Linked DNA regions of Homo sapiens: regions 1, 3 and 4 are each linked to region 2. The links are contacts of gene promoters, found by promoter capture Hi-C in blood cells and fetal thymus (Javierre and others, 2016). All regions are on one chromosome and are shown on one strand. Each heading gives the region's core, a stretch centred on a gene start or on the middle of the fragment in contact. The rest is flanking DNA. Distances are from core to core; before and after follow the strand shown. Region 1 holds the start of TAAR6 (trace amine associated receptor 6). Region 2 holds the start of TCF21 (transcription factor 21). Region 3 holds the start of ALDH8A1 (aldehyde dehydrogenase 8 family member A1). Region 4 has its middle 39 kb from the start of ALDH8A1.

Region 1 (2,700 bases), core at 7-2,506, 1.3 Mb after region 2:
AAGCAGTTAACAAATAGGAATTTAACATTTGTTAGCCAAGTAAATACTTTTGCAGAAGGGACAGGAAAGTGCACATCTTAACAAGACTGAAAAACATTGATTTGTTTTTCATTTGAAGAGCAATTTATTTGCTATTCATTCATAGTCTTACTTGATTTTTAAAAACTCATTTCGCTTGGTAATTTTAAAGGTATCCTGAACTTCGTCTATACAACTGCTTATATATGTTCAGAAAACAAATTCATGGTTGCTGAACTGTTCTTTAAAACCTGACCAGTTACAATAACTTTTATTGCTTTCCTAAACCATGGGTAAAATAAAGCATAAATCAAAGGATTCATGGCTGAGTTATAATAAGCACACCAACAGCAAATCTCATAAATACAGGCAGGGGTTATAAAGCCCATAAAGGCATCAATTAATGAATCAATGCTATATGGTAACCATGAAATCATAAATGCTACCACTGTGACCCCCAGGGTTTTAGCTGCTTTTCTCTCTCTCCTGGCCACTCTGGCTTTGTAACTCTCTGAGGATGATTCTGTCTTGCTACCAGTATTTTCTATCTTTTTCGCCTGTCGTCTAGCCACAAGAAATATGTTACCATACAGAATTATCATAATAAAGGTAGGTATAAAGAAGGATAGAAAATCTGTCAACACCCAGTTTTGATTTACAACGGTCTGACAACCTCCTATACAGTTTAGGGCATCAGATAATTCCTCCAGCCCATCGTCATAGACACCTGTGTAGAACACAGCACCGCTGTACATGAGGGGCAGGATCCAGGACACGCTGATGCAAATTCCTGACACAGATACGGTGAACTTGGTAGGATAGACCAGGGGGTCAGTAACCGCAATGTACCTGTCGATGGAGATGAAGCACAAGTGAAAGAGAGAAGAGTAACAAAATGCCACATCACAGCAGGTGTGGAAAGTACAAAAACTCCTCCCAAAATACCAGCAGCTCTCCACCGTCCTGACCATGCTGAAGGGCATCACAGTCACACCCACCAAGAAATCAGCGCAGGCCAGAGAGGCAACGAGAAAATTGGTCGGAGAGTGCAGCTGCTTGAAATGGAGGATTGAAATCATCACCAGGAGGTTTCCAAACACAGCCAGCACAGCCCCAAAGCCAAACACTATGTACAGAATCACCCGGGATCCCGGCGAGAAGGGGATTTTCACACAGGACCCATTCACGTTCGCGTAGCACAGCTGCACAGCCACCAGCAGGGATGAATTGCTGCTCATAACGCTGTTATTTACATATGGAGAAGTTTTGTCCTTGTTGATTATCACAAAAAATACAGGATTGTTCCTGATTTTCAGTGCTCCTGCGGAAAAAAACACATATTCACCAGGATGCCAGAGGAAATGATCAGATATTATCTCTAATATAATTTTTCAAGTTTCCATTTTTATTATAAATCCCAAATGTTTATGACAAAATAAAATTTGACAAAAATTATATTGCACAAGATTATTGGAGATTGTTTCAACTGATAAATGTCTCATGCTCTTAATTTGATAAAATTCCTTTTGATTTTAAATATCCTTTCATATTTTATTTTTACCTTTTGAGTTTCTCTGTGCAACAGTCGCTGATATGGAATGTAATTATGGAGCTGAAAGATCACCTCCTGTTATCTTTATCTCTGTTATCTGTCCTGCATTACCGCCTTAAAGATGAAGTCCTTTTAGCTAAATAAATGCCTTCAATGGGAAAATCCCTCGATGGAATCCCTGTAGTGCGCGGTGTGAACTAGTATGATTATTTTCAACAGTGATTACTAGGAAAGTTATTCTACAAAACAGGTCTCTACTCTATATTAAATTCTATTATCATTATTGTTTTAGGCCAAAGATTTGTTTTTCCTTAGTGCATAGACTTGAACCATTCCCTTGTTCCCAATCATAACTTAGCCACCCGGGTTTTTGTTACAAAGATACAATAGGGTGTAAATAGTAAGCATCAATACTTGGCTCTTTCTCTTCTGTTAAGAATCAATTTTCCATCTGCATTGGTTACCAACAAGCAGAAATTATTATAATACATAGTGAGGGGAACTTGAGATTGATAAAATATATTGCATGAAAGCATTAAAGAACGACATGCTGTTTAGACACACCGGCATTTCTGAGATGCTGGTGGAAAGACCAGTCCTCTTCTCAAGACATTGTTACTGGGAACACATCTGCAATGTGTCTGCATCCACATGACAAATGGGCAGTGAGCCCTCTCTCTCTGACTACGCATTTGTTTGCAATTCCTGGTGACTGGCCTTTGTGCTCCCGATGCTAAAAGCAGTCAAAAAAATAAGAATAATGAACAGGAAACTGGAAAATGGGAAGAGAATCCTCAGTAATGTTCCCAACCCTGGAATGTAAAGACACTGCAGAGTGAAGAAAATATTGTTATTATTATATTATTGTCTTCCTGAAGAAGGGTTCAACTCTCTTTCCAGTACAGGGCTGTGACTTTAGAGACATTTGTGAACTTGCTTTTCAAGTTATAAAGAGTGATAAGTATTATTATTAATCAATCTCGCTATCTGATTCCTACTCAATAAAATTAACACTCTTAACCAAGTAGTTTTCAGATGCTTCTTAATATTTTCTGTATGTCTGATTTTGTGAAATGGTGTCAATTTCTTATATAGACAAAACCCCGTGCGGGGCTTTCTCAACTTGAGCA
Region 2 (2,859 bases), core at 324-2,823:
TAGAAGTTTTAAAATAAAATCAAATGAAAAAAATTAAGATATATTTCTTAAACAGTAAAATACATTTGAGAAAAAAGTAGACTCAATGATTATCAGTTTTTTGTGTTAAAAAATTAGGCTCAATGGGCATTACTTTTTAAGATAAAAGGTAACATTTCTTAAATCTTGGGTGAGAGTGACCTATTTTAGTATTTATTACACTCATACTAGTGAGGATTTACTGATTTTGCTGATCATTACTAGAACTTCTGGGATTTAAAAATATTAATCCACTTATAGGAGAAGCACAGAATATTTAAGCGGTTAAGGGCTTACGTGGACAATTTGGGGGGCATAGATGTGTCCTTATCCAATGGTCCTAAATATGCTTGTGAAAGAAACGGAGTTGGGTGTTTTTATTTACAAGGAAAGGAAAATCAAGTTCCACTCTCTGCTAAAAGAAGAAAAAAGGATTAACAAAATGCCTGTCCGCTCGCAGCGTCTTGTCAGTGTTCTCAGTTCCGCAGCAGCCACTGCACCCCAGGGAGGATGGCGATGGAGCGGGAGCGGGGGATCCCTCCTCTGTGCCAGCTCAACACACTTGCAAACTTTTAATTGGGCTGCCACGTCAAACCCTCGCATAAATCACTCCCGCTCCGGGGGCTGGTAGGGCAGAGAGCGAGGGCCGTGTCTAGACCGCCCGCCTCCGGTCCCTGGAGGCTCTAGGCCCGCGGTGGTCGAGATGTGTAAGTCACCGCCGCGCCCACACCCCCACTCCCAGCCCCGCGCGCACTCGCGCCCACCGCAGGCGGGAGTGCGGGCGCGCCTGGACTGCAGCTGCAGCCCCGGGAGCACTCACCAGGTTGACCGGGTGAATGTACCCGTTCTCGTATTTGTCGTTAGCCAGGATCTGCCTCAAGTGGGCGATGTAGCTGGACGCCAGCCTGAGCGTGTCCAGCTTGGAGAGCTTGGTGTCGGGGGGCACCCAGGGCAGGGTGGTCTTGAGTCTGGAGAAGGCCTTGCTCAGCACTCGCATGCGGGCCCGCTCTCGCGCGTTGGCGGCGTTGCGCTGGACCTGCTTCCCCTCCTGGCTGACCCCGCTCAGGGGGCTCTTCTTGGTGGGCGCCTTCCTCCTCTTGCCCAGGCCGCCGCGGCCCTTCTGGGGAGACCCATTCTCGCAGTTGGAGCTCTCCTCGGTGCTCTCGTTGGAAGTCACAAATTCCTTGTTCGAATCCATTTTCAACCCGTCACATTCCAACATCTCCACCTCTTGAAGGTCCTCCACATCGCTGAGGGAGCCGGTGGACATGTTTGGGGGAGTGGACGAGGGAGAGAGAGAGAGAGAGACAGAGAGACAGAGAAAGCGAGGAAGAGGGTGAGAGAGAGACAGAGAGACCCTGAAACCAAGAGGCCTCCCGAGTGTGGCGCAGCCACCTCCTGCTGGGAGCTGGAGTTGGGGTCTGGTTGGGTCTCACAACCCTTTCCCCTTCGCAGAGTTGTGAGAAGGAACCCCGAGGACTTCTGCAGCAGAGGAACCGGCTCTCTGTTTCCCCACTCCCAGAGTCGTGGCCGTAGAGGAGGGTGAGCGAGCGCTGAGGAATTTGGTGGACACTAGGAATTTATCTGGGGAATAGAGGGGCGGATCCTTGCAGCCCAGGGAGGGGCCTGCCAGGCCCCAGCAAAGCGCTTAGACCCCTTTCACAACCGGAGGGAAACTCAATGCACAGACCCTGATTTGCAACTTGTAATGTAAATCAACTCAACTGCATCATGTACTTACCAGCCACCTTCTCCCAACTGTGGCCGGGGCCGAGAAGCAGCATGTTCTGTCCATCTGTAAAAGGCCTTCTTTCTCTCTTAAGACGTCACAACTGGTTGTTACTGAGAACTTTAGAAAAACGACTAGATCGTTTGGCTCTTTCTGGGCCTTCCACCTACACTCCATGCCCTCTCTCCTCCCAAGAAAACACGAATTAAAATACAGGGAGTATCAACCGCATCCTGCCAACACCTCATAAGACTCCAAGGCTTTACCGAGATCTTCCACCTTCCCCGGGATAAATGAAGACAAGTGCTTCCTAGAATCTTTATGGTGATGGAAAAGTAAGTATAAAACATTTCACCTACACCTGGTCATTTTCAAGACATCAAAGGACTGCCTACGTGTACACAAACATACTTGATTTGCACACTCAAACCCAACCACACACAGCTTAGTGGGAGTGGGTAGGGAATGAGAGGGCAGTATGAGTGTGTGGAAAACATTATGTTAGTTGATCATCTTTTCCTAATAAATGGAAACTTTCCCCTCGGTTTTTTTTTCTTTTCTAGAAATGCATTTAATATTGCCTTGAGAGTCTTTGTTGCTCTCAGACATCACCTTGCCTGGCACTTTTTGTGATGCACCGTCCCTTTCAATGCTGCTGTCTTTGTCTTCTTCCAGCCTGTTAGGTGCCAGTGTTCCTCACATGAAGCTGACATTACACAACACAAAGCAAGACTATCCTTTTGAGAAAGGTTCTTTTCCATCTTTAACCCCAGCTCGAACCACCTTTCCTAGAGAATAAGAAAGTCTCCTGGGAAGTAGGTAGAAAAAGCACAGGGAAACAGAACCTAGGGATTGGATGAAATTGGTGCAATGAAACCAGGGAGACTGAAGGCATAAATCTCTCTTACAATTTCTTTGCCAGGTTTTCTTCCCTTGCAGGTAGGCATTGAAGTTGAGGGGCTGGAGCAAAATGTAAGAGTGGTTTCTGAGTGGTTGGCTTAGGGTCTGAAGGCTTCTCCTACATTAAGATATCATATCTCTAATCCTAGGCTCAGCTGGGAATTCACTAACCTCTAACGTTTTGTTTTGCTAGCAGGGTCTTGTTTGCTTTC
Region 3 (2,755 bases), core at 64-2,563, 1.1 Mb before region 2:
CAGTTTAAAACGGCTTCCTGTCAACCATGTAAATAGCCAAAGAAACTATGCTGTATATATTATTCACTAGTTTTATTTTTTCACTTAACAATGCATCCTTCTAATGTCTAAGTAGTATTCCCTGTTAAGAATATAACAATTATACTCTAATATTCTCCAATTGATGGACTTTAGGTTGTTTTGATTTTTAAATTATGATAAAAAAGGATGTCCTGTGACTTATGTACTTGTTCATGAGCACGTAATTCTGTAGGAGAGATTCCTAGAAGAGAAATTGACCAGACCCTGACAAATTGCCCCAAGCAGTGTTCTGTGAACCCTCCCGCCTATGGACTAGGGATGATTCTCCACATCCTCACAGAGTAGATGTTCTCAATCTTTAAAAATGCTCTCCAGTATGATTGGCAAATCAGGCCACCTCTGTATTTCACATTCCTTGCTTAACAACAAGGCTGAACATTGTTAATATATTCATTAGCCAATTGTGTTCCTTTTCCTATGGATTGCTTTTTTGTATCTTTGCTTATCTTTTCTGTTGGGGTGCTCATTTCTCTTACCAATTTGTAGAAATTCTCAGCTACATCAGGGATCTGAAGCCCTTGCTATATGTGTCACACATGTTTTTGGCTTGTCTTTATCTCCATGGCACATCTAGGAAGATGTGAGCAGCCACTGTGGCCCCGGTTTTGGGATGGAGAGACAGCTCTTCCAAGAGAGGGCAGCCAAGGTAAAGAAACACAGATGAGCCACGGAAAGAGGGCATCTGTCTTCAGTTACCTCTGCAGGGTAAGCAGTGATGCATTGAGGAAAAAGTATATGATTTGGAGATTAAAGGGCTACAGTTCATCCCCTGCTAACTATGTGACCTTGGAAAAATGGTCTAACCTCTCCAAGGCTCAGTTTCTTCTATAAAAGAGAGGAAGTAATGGTTACTTCATATAGGATTGTTGTGTGGAATAAACGAGTAAATTCATGTAAAGGACTTGCTTTGGGGCCTGGCATCCAATCAGTGTTTGAGCAATGAACAGTTTACGGTGTGAACCCAATAAAATCACATGCACAGATGCCTTCTGATGATTTAAAGGGCTATGAACACATAAGTAAGTAGCTGTTACTTTTACACACAATTATCCATGTCAGGTAATGTACTAGAAGTCTGTGAAACATTCAGCCACTCTCTTAGTTCTGAGTTTGGAGACTGGAATGCTCTCTGAGAGCGTCAGGTGCCCTCCCACATTCACTGATTGGTAAAGGGGAAGATGGGGGCTGGGAAGGGGGAGGCTCACTCAGGAGTCCAGACAGTGGTGGGGACAACCTGAGTGCTCAGTCGTAAAGAGGAAAGGCAGAATTTTTCCTTGCTATGGCTGGAACAAACGCACTTTTGATGCTGGAAAACTTCATAGATGGAAAATTTTTACCTTGTAGCTCATATATAGATTCTTACGACCCATCAACAGGGGAAGTGTATTGCAGAGTGCCAAATAGTGGAAAAGACGAGGTGAGTATATGCACTTAAAGAAGACTGAAATGTGTTTAATATGTTGGCCAATTATGGGTAACAGTTTTCTAAAAGCAGAGGGAGTTGGGGGAAGATGTAGGATTGTTAAACATGATAGAAGGAAGATTCTAGTTCTCAGAAGATGTACCTTGTAACTGGACTGTATGATACCTAGAACAAATCTCTTCCTATATGCAGAAAGTAAGTCATTTTTCTAGCCAACCTAACACAGCCCTGTGTGCAGTTTTTTTTTGCAATTCTCAAACATTTCCTAATCAGTGTCTAGTACAAAGTATTATTTGTAAGAGCTATCACTTTGTTAAATATTCCCTTTTCTCCACCACGCACTGCTTAAATTTACCACTATATCCATGGAATTAAAAAAAAAGTATAGCTTTACTAAAATAAACAAACAAGCAAAAAACTGTGGGCTTTGTTTTAGATTGTCTTCTCATAATTTGTCATGTCTTCAAAATACCTAGTAAAATAAAATCAATCATTTGAATGATGAAACTCAAAATCAAATTCCCATATATTTTTGGAGTTAGATTTAACAGCGTCTTTTTTCTTATCCAAAGTGTTTAATGGCATATGCATTACATTTTTTTGGTGATGTAGAATTAATTTTACTTGGAGAATTTTGTAAAATATTTGAGATATATTTGATTAGCTATCAATTATTGCACTGAGAATGTAAATATATCTGAAGTGGTAAATGTAGCTGATGTATATATAGTCATCTAATGCCTTATGAATTATAATTTATTCTTTTTAAGGCACAAATAACTAGATTATTTAAAATATAGTCTTCCTATAAAAATATATATTCCATGCAAAGTTTTTTTTTAAGAACATTGCTATTTTTTTTCTTTTTTGTTAATACTTCAAATCTGTCTTGCATTTAAAGTAAACCTTCAGACTTAGGGATTAATGTTTGCAAATGTTGGTTAATGCATTGGTTAAATTATAAACTGCAATTTTGTTTGCTTCAAATGACTTAACACAGCTCTGGGAAATCCAGCTTTGTGTTTTCCACTCTTCCTTGTTTGCCAAAGTGAAGTTAAAAATGACAAACATGCCAAATTCAGCTGAAATATTTCCTGCAGCTAATGGCTCATAACTTTTTAGAAAATAGAATGAGCTATGGATGCGCTAGCTAGTAGAGTAATAGATATGTTCAGTTTCTCAGCAATCCAACTTCCAAATATCCTATCTGATCCCATAAGTCATAGTTTTTTCCGGCTTGAAAAATATGGT
Region 4 (3,076 bases), core at 89-2,588, 1.0 Mb before region 2:
GGTAATTGAGAAAAAGCAGACACAGGAAAAGCTATTTTCCCCCTGTTTGCCTAAAAGGAGGGCATAACATTCCCTTATGATAGTTTTCTCTCTTGTACCAGGAGAGAAAGAGTAACCTTTATTTCTGGAGATGGAGATGGTGCCGAGATGTCTGCATAAACAAATCTCACTAAATAACTTTTACCTTCATTGGATTTTCCCCCAGATTTTTACCTTTCTACAATTTACTGGCCCTAAAAACCCAAACTCCCTCTTCTTTGTTAGTCATTTCTCAACAATCTTTCACCTTTGGTTAAAATGGCACTTATGGCCCCAAGACTAGCCACTTATTTGGGTTTTTACTTCTTTTCTATGGAGCTCCCATGCACATAAAATTTAAAATAAAATTCGTATGCCTTTTTCGCCTGTCAATTTGACTTTTGCCAGTTTAATTCACAAGGCCCAACTGAAGAGGGTAGAGGAAAATTTTCCTCTTCTACATAAATAAGATAAAAAACGTGTTCATCTACTTTGTGTTTGTCAAGCATGGATCAAATTCAAAACTTTACATTTGCCATGATTCTAGAACTAGCACAGAAATAATTTTTTTTTAAAAAGGAGAAAAAGATGGCTTCAGAGTTTTTAGGAGCAAAAATTAGAGGTTGTGGATGACATGATTAAGTACTGGCCCCAGGGTGTTCTCTCCTCATTAAATGGTCTGATCATCCTACTAGAAGGCTTCATTTTATAAGAGAAGAATTCATTGCTTTAATAAGTTTAATCCAAAACACTTGAGTCAGTAAATTCCTGATTTAAAATTCCTACAAAATATTACTCCATACTCCCAAGTTGACTTTTTTCTTGTTAGATTGATTTATTAGTACCTACTCTCCCTCCTAAGTTTTCAACTACAAAGTATTGTTTTCTCTTTTGAAGCCCAAGCACATACTTTGGAGAACATTATAGAAATGCTGTGATTCACCCTATGAGTTATAACCACAGTCTCTCAATCACATGATGGAGAGTAGAGCCCTGGAGAGGCTATTCAAGGGGTTACGTGTAATGAACTCTCTAAATACAATTCACTTGAACAGTGGGCTGGGCCAGGCCACACCTGTCTGGGTGGTGGTCAGAGGGCTGTGGCTCCATTCCCCACTGGTTGGGCCACAATCCTTGCCAAGCAATAGGCACCTATTAGCAGATTTTACACTGTCTGATGAGCCAGGGTACATGGCTTCCATATTCTCACTTATGGGATGTGTGGTTGCTACTCAGAAATCAATAAAATCTAAAATAATTATAATTTGGTTTCTGCCTTATTGTAAACAAATGTGTCATTTCTCCAGACATGGGACAATTACTGTAGTGATTTTGATTTTTATTACATTCAGTGCAGCAGATTTTTGTGGAGTCTCTATGCTGTCATTGCAAGATCATGGCATTGATCTTGAATCTATAGGGATAAAATAAGTCCTGGCATACATCTAATATGAAAAATAATCTCTACCTTCAAGGAGTTTGCACTCTATGGAGAATGGAAGAGTGTTGGAATGCATTTTCAGAGCACTGCATGTGAAGCAGAGAGATAATGCTTATGTATATTTAGAACTACATAAATAATAAAGAAAAGAAAAAGAAAAAATGGAACTGGGATGCCTTAAAATTCTTCAGAACATGGAAATGAAATGTTGCTTTCTGGCTGGCTAACCTCTAAGGCAATCAAAATAGAATATAATTAGCTATCTATTGCTGCCAGGGCTTAAACCATTTTTCCAAATTGTGTTTGCCAAGACAAAAGGAGGTATTTTCTGTAGTACAGGAGAGGTGAATGAGAGGATGAGTGGGTTGAACAGTCCTGAGTAATTATTGCATTTATTTAGGTTTCTGCAGCTATCTATCAGGCCCTTGGCTTATGATAGCAAATGATAATGAACAGTCAAAAGGCAGAAATAGCAACATTCACCCTATCATGACACAGGGACATTATATTCTTTTTATACACAATACAGTGCAAAGGTTCAGGGAGAGCGAGAAGTATGACCTGAAGCCATTTTTCCACTACTCATCATTTTTGACAGTTACAAGAAATCCAGAGAAGGGATTTTCTTGTCTAATTATTTCTAACCTTAAAGTTCAGGGAGTCAGTCTTTCTCAAGATTAGGATTCACTAAATACATCCTGAGGAAAGGGTGCAGTACATGTTCTGCGAATACTGTCCAGGAGCTGTGAACTCTCTCCCTTTATTTAGGATATCAGAGGAAGGGGCAGGAGAGGGGAGGAGAGTTCAGTCATCTCAGCTTGAAGCAAGTGCTCGGTAAGCACTTTGGTATCGCTCCCAAGGGGGACTGTATCACTTCCATCCCAATGACTGAACTCGACCTGAATGCAGACCGCTGAGTCCAAGTCCCAAGTCTCAGGACCCCAGGAGTTACTAGAAAGAAACGCTCAGAGCTGCTTTCTGGTAGATTATTAGTGGGAGAATACATTTCCCCTAAGATACCTAAAATCAATGCAAAGAGGACCTCAGAAGTATGTATTTTGCTGAACTTGAAACATCAGAGAAATTGTTCAAAAATCCCCTGAAGAGATAAATATGCTGATATTCAAATTTTTACCTATCTTGATGATTCTCACATGCTTTGATTTCTCAAGGATGTTGCATGAAAATCATTTTTCCTCTATTAGAAATTCATGAGCGCCTGCTGCTTACTTCCCAGCGGCAGTCCTTGGGACCTGGTATGTGGGCACTTTAAAAAGATGCTTCAGGAGAGCATTTTATGCTCTGTGCAGGGACCTGCTCCTGCAGGCAATTGGCACGTGTAGTCACAGAGCCCGAAGCTCTGGGGCTGTCACATAAATTGCACAGAGTCAGAGGCTGCTCCCCACACAGCAGCCCAACCACCCCAGATGGCCCCACTCTACCTTCAGTCCCCCAGGGAAGGGGTTTCCACCCTCTCCCGCCATTCACTATGTCTGAGCTTGAAATATTAAAATAGAGTACTTGTTTCACATATAACTCCAATTCCAACAGCTGTAATTAAGAACACATAGAGGCCAGCTGCTTATTATATGTAGGCAGGAGCTCCAAAATACTTAA

Evidence for each region. Contacts are between HindIII fragments. The CHiCAGO score rates a contact against its expected background, and 5 or more counts as called.
Region 1: a contact is called between the fragment with the promoter of TAAR6 here and the fragment with the promoter of TCF21 in region 2, in 4 of 17 cell types (total CD4 T cells, total CD8 T cells, naive CD8 T cells and 1 more). The highest score is 7.0, in total CD4 T cells.
Region 3: a contact is called between the fragment with the promoter of ALDH8A1 here and the fragment with the promoter of TCF21 in region 2, in 6 of 17 cell types (naive B cells, monocytes, neutrophils and 3 more). The highest score is 11.3, in naive B cells.
Region 4: a fragment that was not itself captured here is called in contact with the fragment with the promoter of TCF21 in region 2 in 1 of 17 cell types (monocytes); the score reaches 5.4 in monocytes.

The regions. Positions count from the first base shown.
Region 1 is chr6:132,568,878-132,571,577 of GRCh38, reverse strand. It overlaps TAAR6 (trace amine associated receptor 6), which reads right to left and starts at 1,256. Exons shown (of 1, transcript NM_175067.1): 1 at 219-1,256. The coding sequence starts at 1,256. The coding sequence ends at 219. The HindIII fragment of the contact is 3,206 bases long and covers 1-2,700 here.
Region 2 is chr6:133,887,827-133,890,685 of GRCh38, reverse strand. It overlaps TCF21 (transcription factor 21), which reads right to left and starts at 1,573. Exons shown (of 2, transcript NM_003206.4): 1 at 839-1,573. The coding sequence starts at 1,288. It overlaps TARID (TCF21 antisense RNA inducing promoter demethylation), which reads left to right and starts at 1,680. Exons shown (of 9, transcript NR_109982.1): 1 at 1,680-2,082. RefSeq lists an enhancer at 1,112-2,025. The HindIII fragment of the contact is 7,636 bases long and covers 1-2,859 here.
Region 3 is chr6:134,948,659-134,951,413 of GRCh38, reverse strand. It overlaps ALDH8A1 (aldehyde dehydrogenase 8 family member A1), which reads left to right and starts at 1,313. Exons shown (of 7, transcript NM_022568.4): 1 at 1,313-1,498. The coding sequence starts at 1,361. The HindIII fragment of the contact is 9,755 bases long and covers 1-2,755 here.
Region 4 is chr6:134,909,670-134,912,745 of GRCh38, reverse strand. No RefSeq gene overlaps it. Among named protein-coding and RNA genes, the nearest start is that of ALDH8A1, 39 kb to the left of the region's middle. The HindIII fragment of the contact is 3,763 bases long and covers 1-3,076 here.